Regions from separate parts of the Homo sapiens genome. Here region 1 is linked to region 2. The links are contacts of gene promoters, found by promoter capture Hi-C in blood cells and fetal thymus (Javierre and others, 2016). All regions are on one chromosome and are shown on one strand. The core of a region is centred on a gene start or on the middle of the fragment in contact, and the rest is flanking DNA. Distances in the headings are between cores, read along the strand shown.

The links. The method cuts DNA at HindIII sites, captures the fragments that hold promoters and counts their contacts. A CHiCAGO score of 5 or more calls a contact.
Region 1: a contact is called between the fragment with the promoter of VAMP1 here and a fragment that was not itself captured in region 2, in 1 of 17 cell types (non-activated CD4 T cells). The highest score is 5.2, in non-activated CD4 T cells.

What each region holds. Positions count from the first base shown.
Region 1 is chr12:6,468,513-6,472,139 of GRCh38, forward strand. VAMP1 (vesicle associated membrane protein 1) reads right to left here and starts at 2,165. Exons shown (of 5, transcript NM_014231.5): 1 at 2,018-2,165. The coding sequence starts at 2,019. It also overlaps a transcript of TAPBPL not described here. RefSeq lists silencers at 1,647-1,696, 2,197-2,246, 2,457-2,716. The HindIII fragment of the contact is 5,218 bases long and covers 1-2,735 here.
Region 2 is chr12:6,145,476-6,149,352 of GRCh38, forward strand. No RefSeq gene overlaps it. Among named protein-coding and RNA genes, the nearest start is that of VWF, 23 kb to the left of the region's middle. The HindIII fragment of the contact is 4,885 bases long and covers 162-3,877 here.

The DNA.
Region 1 (3,627 bases), core at 915-3,414, 320 kb after region 2:
AGCATAGACAGGAAGCAAAAATGCTAGAAATTGTCCTCAATGTGCATGCATTATAGACATTCTGTCCCTTCCTTTTCTGGATTTGACAGTCTCAGATGACTCCCTTGGTTACTTACATCCCAAAGAGAGATCTTGGTTTACTGTACTATACACACAGAGAATGTTCTCTCATTCTGTACCACTCAAAGTTAGTGTGTGGTCTTCAAGACAAACTCCTCTCCATGTCCCAAAACATGGAGGCTAAACTCACCTCCTAAAGAATTCCCAGAAGTATAACCTAAGTCATGAGATGTTCTCGGCCAAGGAAGCACCCACAGGCAGGGGGGAGATCTCTCAAATTTGATGGAGAATAGAAATTACAGTAAGAACTCCTCAAACAGAAGCAGAATCTCACCAAACATACTTCACAGGAGCAGTCCAAGAGTAAATGCAACAAAAATGAAACCACAAAGTCACCTAAAAGGAAATTATTTGACTAATTACAATAGAACTAATACCCAGAAGCTCATTCTCCTTGATTAAGTGAATTTCTTTTAGTCTAAAAAGATAGAGAATAACTCCTCAGAGAGGCTATGGTAGCAGATTACACCTGACTCATTCCCCATTTGAAGAATCACTTTTCCATTTCCCTCTAAGGTGCAAAGGAGGTAAAGCAAAGATAGACACAAAGTCATGGGAGCCACAAGACTCTTGTCCTGCCACTGAGCTAGCTAAGCAATCTAGCTCTCGACTTAAGGCAGAAAATTCAATGAGTAGGTAGCAGCCAGTGTTGGAAGCAGTCCAGGATGGTAGCACCAATGACAAGATTAAGGTCAGAGACCTCGTGATGCCCCGCTAGCCACCACGATTTTTCTGTTGCCTTCTGTTCATCCCACGTAGATACTATCTGGAAGCCCCCTCCCCAAAATGAAAACAACTGGAATTCTACGGCTTGCCCAAAATGCATAGAACACTCATATCTGGTTAAAACCATAGAAATCAAAAAGAAAAAGTGAAATGGCTATGAAGTATTTGCAAGGCCAATTTCACTTACTACTTGTTGGGAGTTGGAAACACTCAACAGTAAAATATCTAGGGATAATTACAACCCTTATGTAACACAAGTAAATCTTTCCCTTTTTTGTCACTTAGAGAAGCAACATAAATACATCTAGGACCAGGCCAGGGTAGTAATCAGAAAGAAAAATCTGTATTAGACATATTGAGGTCTTGACAGAGAAGTACTTCGTTTGTTTAGCCGTAGTTTTCCCTCAAGATCATGCGAAGGGGGTGATGTTGAAGACTGCTGGAGACTAAACTGTGTGTGTTGGAGGAAAGGGGGAAAGCTCAGCTCTCCCTATTTCTCCTCCAACTATTTGGTAAGACTCGGTGATAGAAAAACATCTCCTATACGAATGGCCTTGGTATGAACAGCCGCTTGGGATGACAGGCCACTATCCCACTACCCCTTGAGTCTTTCTGAGCTGCTCACCTGGTGCCAGAGAACTGGCAGATAAGTTTCTGCAGCTTTGCTCACTGCCATGAGGGGGGCTAGACATCACACTTTGGGTGAGGGGTAAACAAATCCAGAGATTGTAGGGCAACATAAGTTACCAACTGGCAGTTGCACCCATGACTGTCTTTCCTGAGGCGCTGAGTAGTGATTTAGCCAGATGACAGAAATACCTTTCGAGTCCCCTGCCCAGTTGTCTCCATCCACCACCCCCAGCCCCCGCCCTCTCCGAGTCTCCACTATACCAAAACCAGAATGAGGCGCCACTCAGACGAGAGGAGAGGGTGCAATGATTGTGGGACCCCTGCGCCCCTGCCCCGCCCGTGGGGTGCTAGCTGTGGCTGGTGCGAGAATGGGGTGCTGGCCCCCCTCCCTGGGGGTGGCCCGGTCCGGAAGCGGCGCGCGGTGGTAGTTCCCCGCGTTGCTGCAGCTGCTGCATTGCGCCATTTTCCGTCCCGCAGAATCGGGAGCTTGGGGCGAGAGTTGTCAAGGAGGTGCCGAGCCCCCACACCAGAGTCAACTCACATTTTTCTGACAGAGAGAGTGAGGGTCTGTTCCTCTCCGGAGGCTGCGGCGAGACACCCGGTGAGGGACGCTGCGGCTGAAGTGGACGGAACTGCCAAGCTCCGCCTCGCGCCGACTACCCCGCGGTCTAGCTGCGCTGGAACTTACTGCAGCTGCCGCGCCGGCCTCCGCCTTTATTAGTGCTGACCACGCCTCCCGGATAACGGTGACAACCCCGCGGCCCAATCCATGCCCAGGACGGTCGCCCAGCGCTACAGGCCTAGCCCGCCCCGCCCCTGCCAATTGCCAGTCACAACTCTCCTCTCATCCGACTCCGGAAAGGAGCGGTTGCTGTGAGGATCCTTCAGTGATCAATGCGACCATAGTTTGCGCTCCAGTCTGGCGGAGGGACGGGGCGGGGTGGAGATGAGGTCTGTCCCTTCGGAGGGCGCTTCAGCAGTTTGTTAGGCATTTGTGGTGCCTCCCAACCAATCGCTAGGCAGTTACTGAAGACCGTGCCCGCCCCTGCCCCACCCCGCGCCGGGACTCGCGCATTCAGCTGGAGGCGGCGGCTTCCTGGTGCGCGCCCAGCCCTGGTGCCCTGCTCTGGCCCTCGCTCCGCACCACCGCCCCGCCTCTAACTAACGCTCTGAGAGGGTGCAGGAGCCTCGAGACACAGCCACAAGCTCCTGGTGCCAGATACCGGATGCGGGGTTCCGTCCCACCAAAGCAAGCACGAAGCTTTCGTTCATTCGTTTCTTTCAACATAGCCTTCCTAAATTGAACTCCCTCCCAAACCTGCTCCAGTCGAGGTTACCACATCGACTCAGTTGCCCAGACCAGAAACGTGGAAACCATCCTAGATTTCCTCCCCTTCACCTTTACCTCTCCCCCAGTAATCTGCCAAATCGAGTTGATTTTTCCTTCTTGGCATTCCAGTGATTATCTCCCCTCTGCTCACTATTATCCCTTTCCTGGACTCCATCAGTTGGAAAATTCACCATTATTTTATGTCCCGCTAAGAAAAAAGGTTACAAGGCCGGGCGCAGTGGCTCACACCTGTAATCCCAGCACTTTGGGAGGCCGAGTCAGGCAGATTACCTGAGATCAGGAGTTCGAGACCAGCCTGGCCAACATGGCGAAACCTCTGTCTCTACTAAAAATACAAAACAGCCAGGCATGGTGGCGGGCGCCTGTAATCCCAGCTACTCGTGAGGCTGAGATAAGAGAATCGCTTGAAGCCGGGAGCCGACGGTTGCAGTGAGCCGAGATCACGCCACTGCACTCCAGCCTGGGCAACAGAGCAAGACCCTGTTTCAAAAAAAAAAAGAAAAAAGGTTGCAAATTATCTGTGACAAATGCTTTCCTTACCACTTAGCATTTTTGTTTTACATGTATTGAAAATATGGGTTTATATACATACCGATTTCTATATTTCACTCTTGTGCATGCATAAAAAGGGAAATAGAAAACAATAACATGGTAACTATCCCTAAAACTTCACAGAGACTGATTGTTAATGATTCACTTTTTTGACTCAGTCTTGGATGTCCACTAATTTCCACGCAATGTAGTCCTCTGTGCATTTCATAAGGGCTTTGGTGATGCAGCATTTCCTAAGAGTGTTCCTC
Region 2 (3,877 bases), core at 1,354-3,853:
AGATGGGGTTTCACCGTCTTTGCCAGGGTGGTCTCGATCCCTGACCTCGTGATCCTCCTGCCTCGGCCTCCCAAAGTGCTGGGATTACAGGCGTGAGCCACCGCGCCCGGCCTTTTTTCTAGTCTTAAAGCCACCACGCCCGGCCTTTTTTCTAGTCTTAAAGCTTGAAAAACTTAATTTGTTTTATCTGAGTTCCCTCCTCAGGAAAAGACCTTCAGGCCTCTAAAAAAAAGTATCAAAGAACTGAAACTCACCAGATCACCACATCCAGACAAGGAAATGCCCAGACCCCTCATTCATCATGATTGTTTCCTTGCCCCTCCCTAGTTCCTGTTTTCGTAGGCATTGTTACATTTCTTCCCTGCTACATAAACCCTTACTTTTTGTAGGTCAGGGAGATGGGTTTGAGACTGGGCTCCCATCTCCACTCCTCAGCTGCAGGATTAAAGATTTTTTTCTGGCCAGGTGCAGCGGCTCATGCCTCTAATCCCAACACTTTGGGAGGCTGAGGCAGGCAGATCACCTGAGGTCAGGAGTTCGAGACCAGCCTGACCATCATGGAGAAACCTCGTCTCTACTAAAAATACAAAATTAGCCGGGCATGGTGGAGATGCCTATAATCCCAGCTACTCAGGAGGCTGAGGCAGGAGAATTGCTGGAACCCGGGAGGCAGAAGTTGCGGTGAAGCGAGGTCACGCCACCGCACTCCAGCCTGGGCAACAGAAAGAGACTCACTCTCAAATAAATACATACAGACAGACAGACACCAGCATGACATTACATAGTGTAGCACAGCTTTGCCTAAAGGGAGGGGAAAAAAGGTGCAAACACCAGGCTAATTCAGAGAGGAGACTTCTCTTGCTGGGTGTCTCATTCCCAGCACCCTCATCCAGAAACCTAAATTCAGAATCCCTGCTACCTAGATTTCCCGGACCTACTCTACAACCGCTAGTATTTATTTGGTATCTGGGCTAGGCTCTTGGGATATGAAGGTGAGTGAAAAAACACACCATTCTCTGCCCTCATGGAGCTTATGATCTGTTGACAGGACCGACATTAATCCAAACAAATTATAACTACAAACAGTGATGAGAGTAAGACACGTGGTGCCAGGGAGGCATACAAGTAATAGATTCCCACCCAAACTGAGAGGGCCGGGGGGTGTGGGCAGAGAAGTCCTCCCTGAAGAGGTACAACTGAACTGAGTTCTATGGGATGAGTAGGAGTAAAGCCAGGCAAAGGTTGGTGGGCACACTTCAGGCCATGGGAATAGCACGTGCAAAGGCCCAGCTGCAGGAGGAGGCTACCTACCAAGACACTGAAAGACAGTCTGTGGCTGCAACACAGATCAGGGGAAGCATGGTGGACGACAGGGCTGGAGAGGTAGGAAGGGGTCAGATGAAACGTTACTCCTTTCTGCGATGCATTTTGGTTTTCAGGGCAATTTCCCAGACCAGACTTCATTAGAGCCTTACGCTACCACCATGAGTTAGCAAGAGCAGGCAGTATTGTTCCCAATTTGCACATGAAGAAGTGAATGCTCAGCAAAGTTGTCAGAGGCATTCGAACCAGAATGACTCCATTTTGAGTGAGGACTAGGAAAATGAGGCTGAGACTTGCTGGGCTGCATTCTCAGAAAGTTAGGCATTATTAGCCTCTGCATGTTTACAGTTAAGGGAACAAATTAATCGTGTTTACTGAACAGGCCCAGACTTGGGAGTGTCCAGATAACCTGGTACAAAGGTATTCCTTTTTTTTTTTTTTTTTTGAGACGGAGTCTTACTCTGTTGACCAGGCAGGAGTGCAGTGGCACGATGTCGGCTCACTGCAAACTCTGCCTCCCAGATTCAAGCAATTCCCTGCCCCAGCCTTCCAAGTAGCTGGGATTACAGGCGCCCACCACCACACCCGGCTAATTTTTGTATTTTTAGTAGAGACAGGGTTTCGCCATGTTGGCCAGGCTGGTATTGAACTCCTGACCTCATGATCCACCCACCTCAACCTCCTAAAGTGCTGGGATTACAGGCGTGAGCCACTGTGCCCAGCTGAACAAAGGTATTCCTAATTTTGCTTTAAAGATAATAATATCAATTCCTGCAAAATATAGTAATTAAGAAAATTAATCCTTTATCACAAACCTTGTAGCAGAGCACATCTCCCCATATATACAAGCATTGTACGTAGGTTGGATGCGTTCCTCCTCTTACTTTCGGGAACGTCCTACTGTGTCTATGGAGTGGATGTTCTTTCACCACTTTACTTCCTTAATAAACTTGCTTTGCCTTTGCACTGCGGACTCACCCTGAATTCTTCCTTGCTCGAGATCCAAGAACCCTCTCTTGGGGTCTGGATCGGGACCCCCTTTCCTGTAACATATTTCTGGCGAACACAGAAGGCACTATAGTACAGAAACCCTGACCCAACGGCTACCTTTGGGTAAATGGTGGAGTCCTGTAACAAAGTGACTTGCCAGAGGCCACGCAGCGAGGGAGTCAAACAGCCTATGCTTACTCCTTGCCCTCCAACTCCTGGCCCAGTGCTCTCTGCTCCCACTGCCTATTCCTGATCCTGTTCAGTCTTCCTTATGGTTCAGCTCCCAAATCCCAAAGTGAAGGCATCAGGTCTCACAGTTGGAAAGGACTTTAGGGAAGGACACCTCTTCTAGGATTCTCCCAATTTGCATCTTGCAAAACTGAAGGACCCCAGGGTCTCTGGCTGAGCTCTTCCTGATTTACTCTAAGATACAAGCAAAATCCTTTTAGTTCAGACTTGATTGGTGGGGAAAGGCCTTGGGATGATGTGAGCTGGACCAAGCAATCCCTGCCTATAATTTCATTAGTCCACAGTTCCAGGCTTCTACTTTGAGACACAGAAAATTTCTCTTGTGAACCAGGCCACATCCTCTCACAGGAGGCTTTTACTCACACATTCACACGCCGTGAGAACTTTCTCCTTGTCTCTGTGCCTTCCTGAAACATAAGTATCATTAACTATTTAAAATGGACTTTCATACTACAGATGGTGAGTTGATTTAAGGAAAATACACTTATCTTATTCCTCTTCCTCAAATACTACAGGACAAAGTTTTCTGTTGTTCTAAATTTTTGGCTTCTCTCTGTGAAACTGAATTACCTGCTATAATTTGCACAGAAAATGTAATGCATCCCCCACTGTGGGCCTTGAGCAAGCTGCCACCTTCAAGCACCTTCAAGCCATTCACCAAGGATGGAACCTCTTGCTCAAAGAAGAAAGCCAAAGTGTTTAAGATACTGACCTGTAGCAAGCAAACAGTGAGACATAATCACACTCTTGACTTGAACTAATAGCGTATATATTTTATCACAAATCTTGGAAATGACAGAAGTCTTGGGCTGGGCGCAGTGGCTCATGCCTGTAATCCCAGCACGTGGGGAGGCCGAGGCGCGCGATCACCTGAGGTCAGAAGTTTGAGACCAGCCCGGCCAACATGGTGAAACCCTGTCTCTACTAAAAATACGAAAATTAGCTGGGCGTGGTGGCTGGCGTCTGTAATCCCAGCTACTCAGGAGGCTGAGGCAGAAGAACTGCTTGAACCCAGGAGGCGGAGGTTGCAGTGAGTGGAGATTGCGCCATTGCACTCTAGCCTGCGCGGCAGAGCAAGACTCCATCTCAAAAAAGAAAAAAGAAAAAAAAAAGTCTCAGATAGAGTCCTGGAGGTCTGAGGCTCTATCTGCTTCCTCCTCCATCTTGAGAAAGTGACTGACCCTCTCTGGCACTCTTTTACCCAAAGTAGCCAGGGTGTGTGTGGTTTGTAATTTTTTTTTTTTTTTTTTTTTTTTTGAGACGGAGTCTCACACTGTCGCCCAGGCTGGAGTGTAGTGGCGAGATCTCGGCTCAC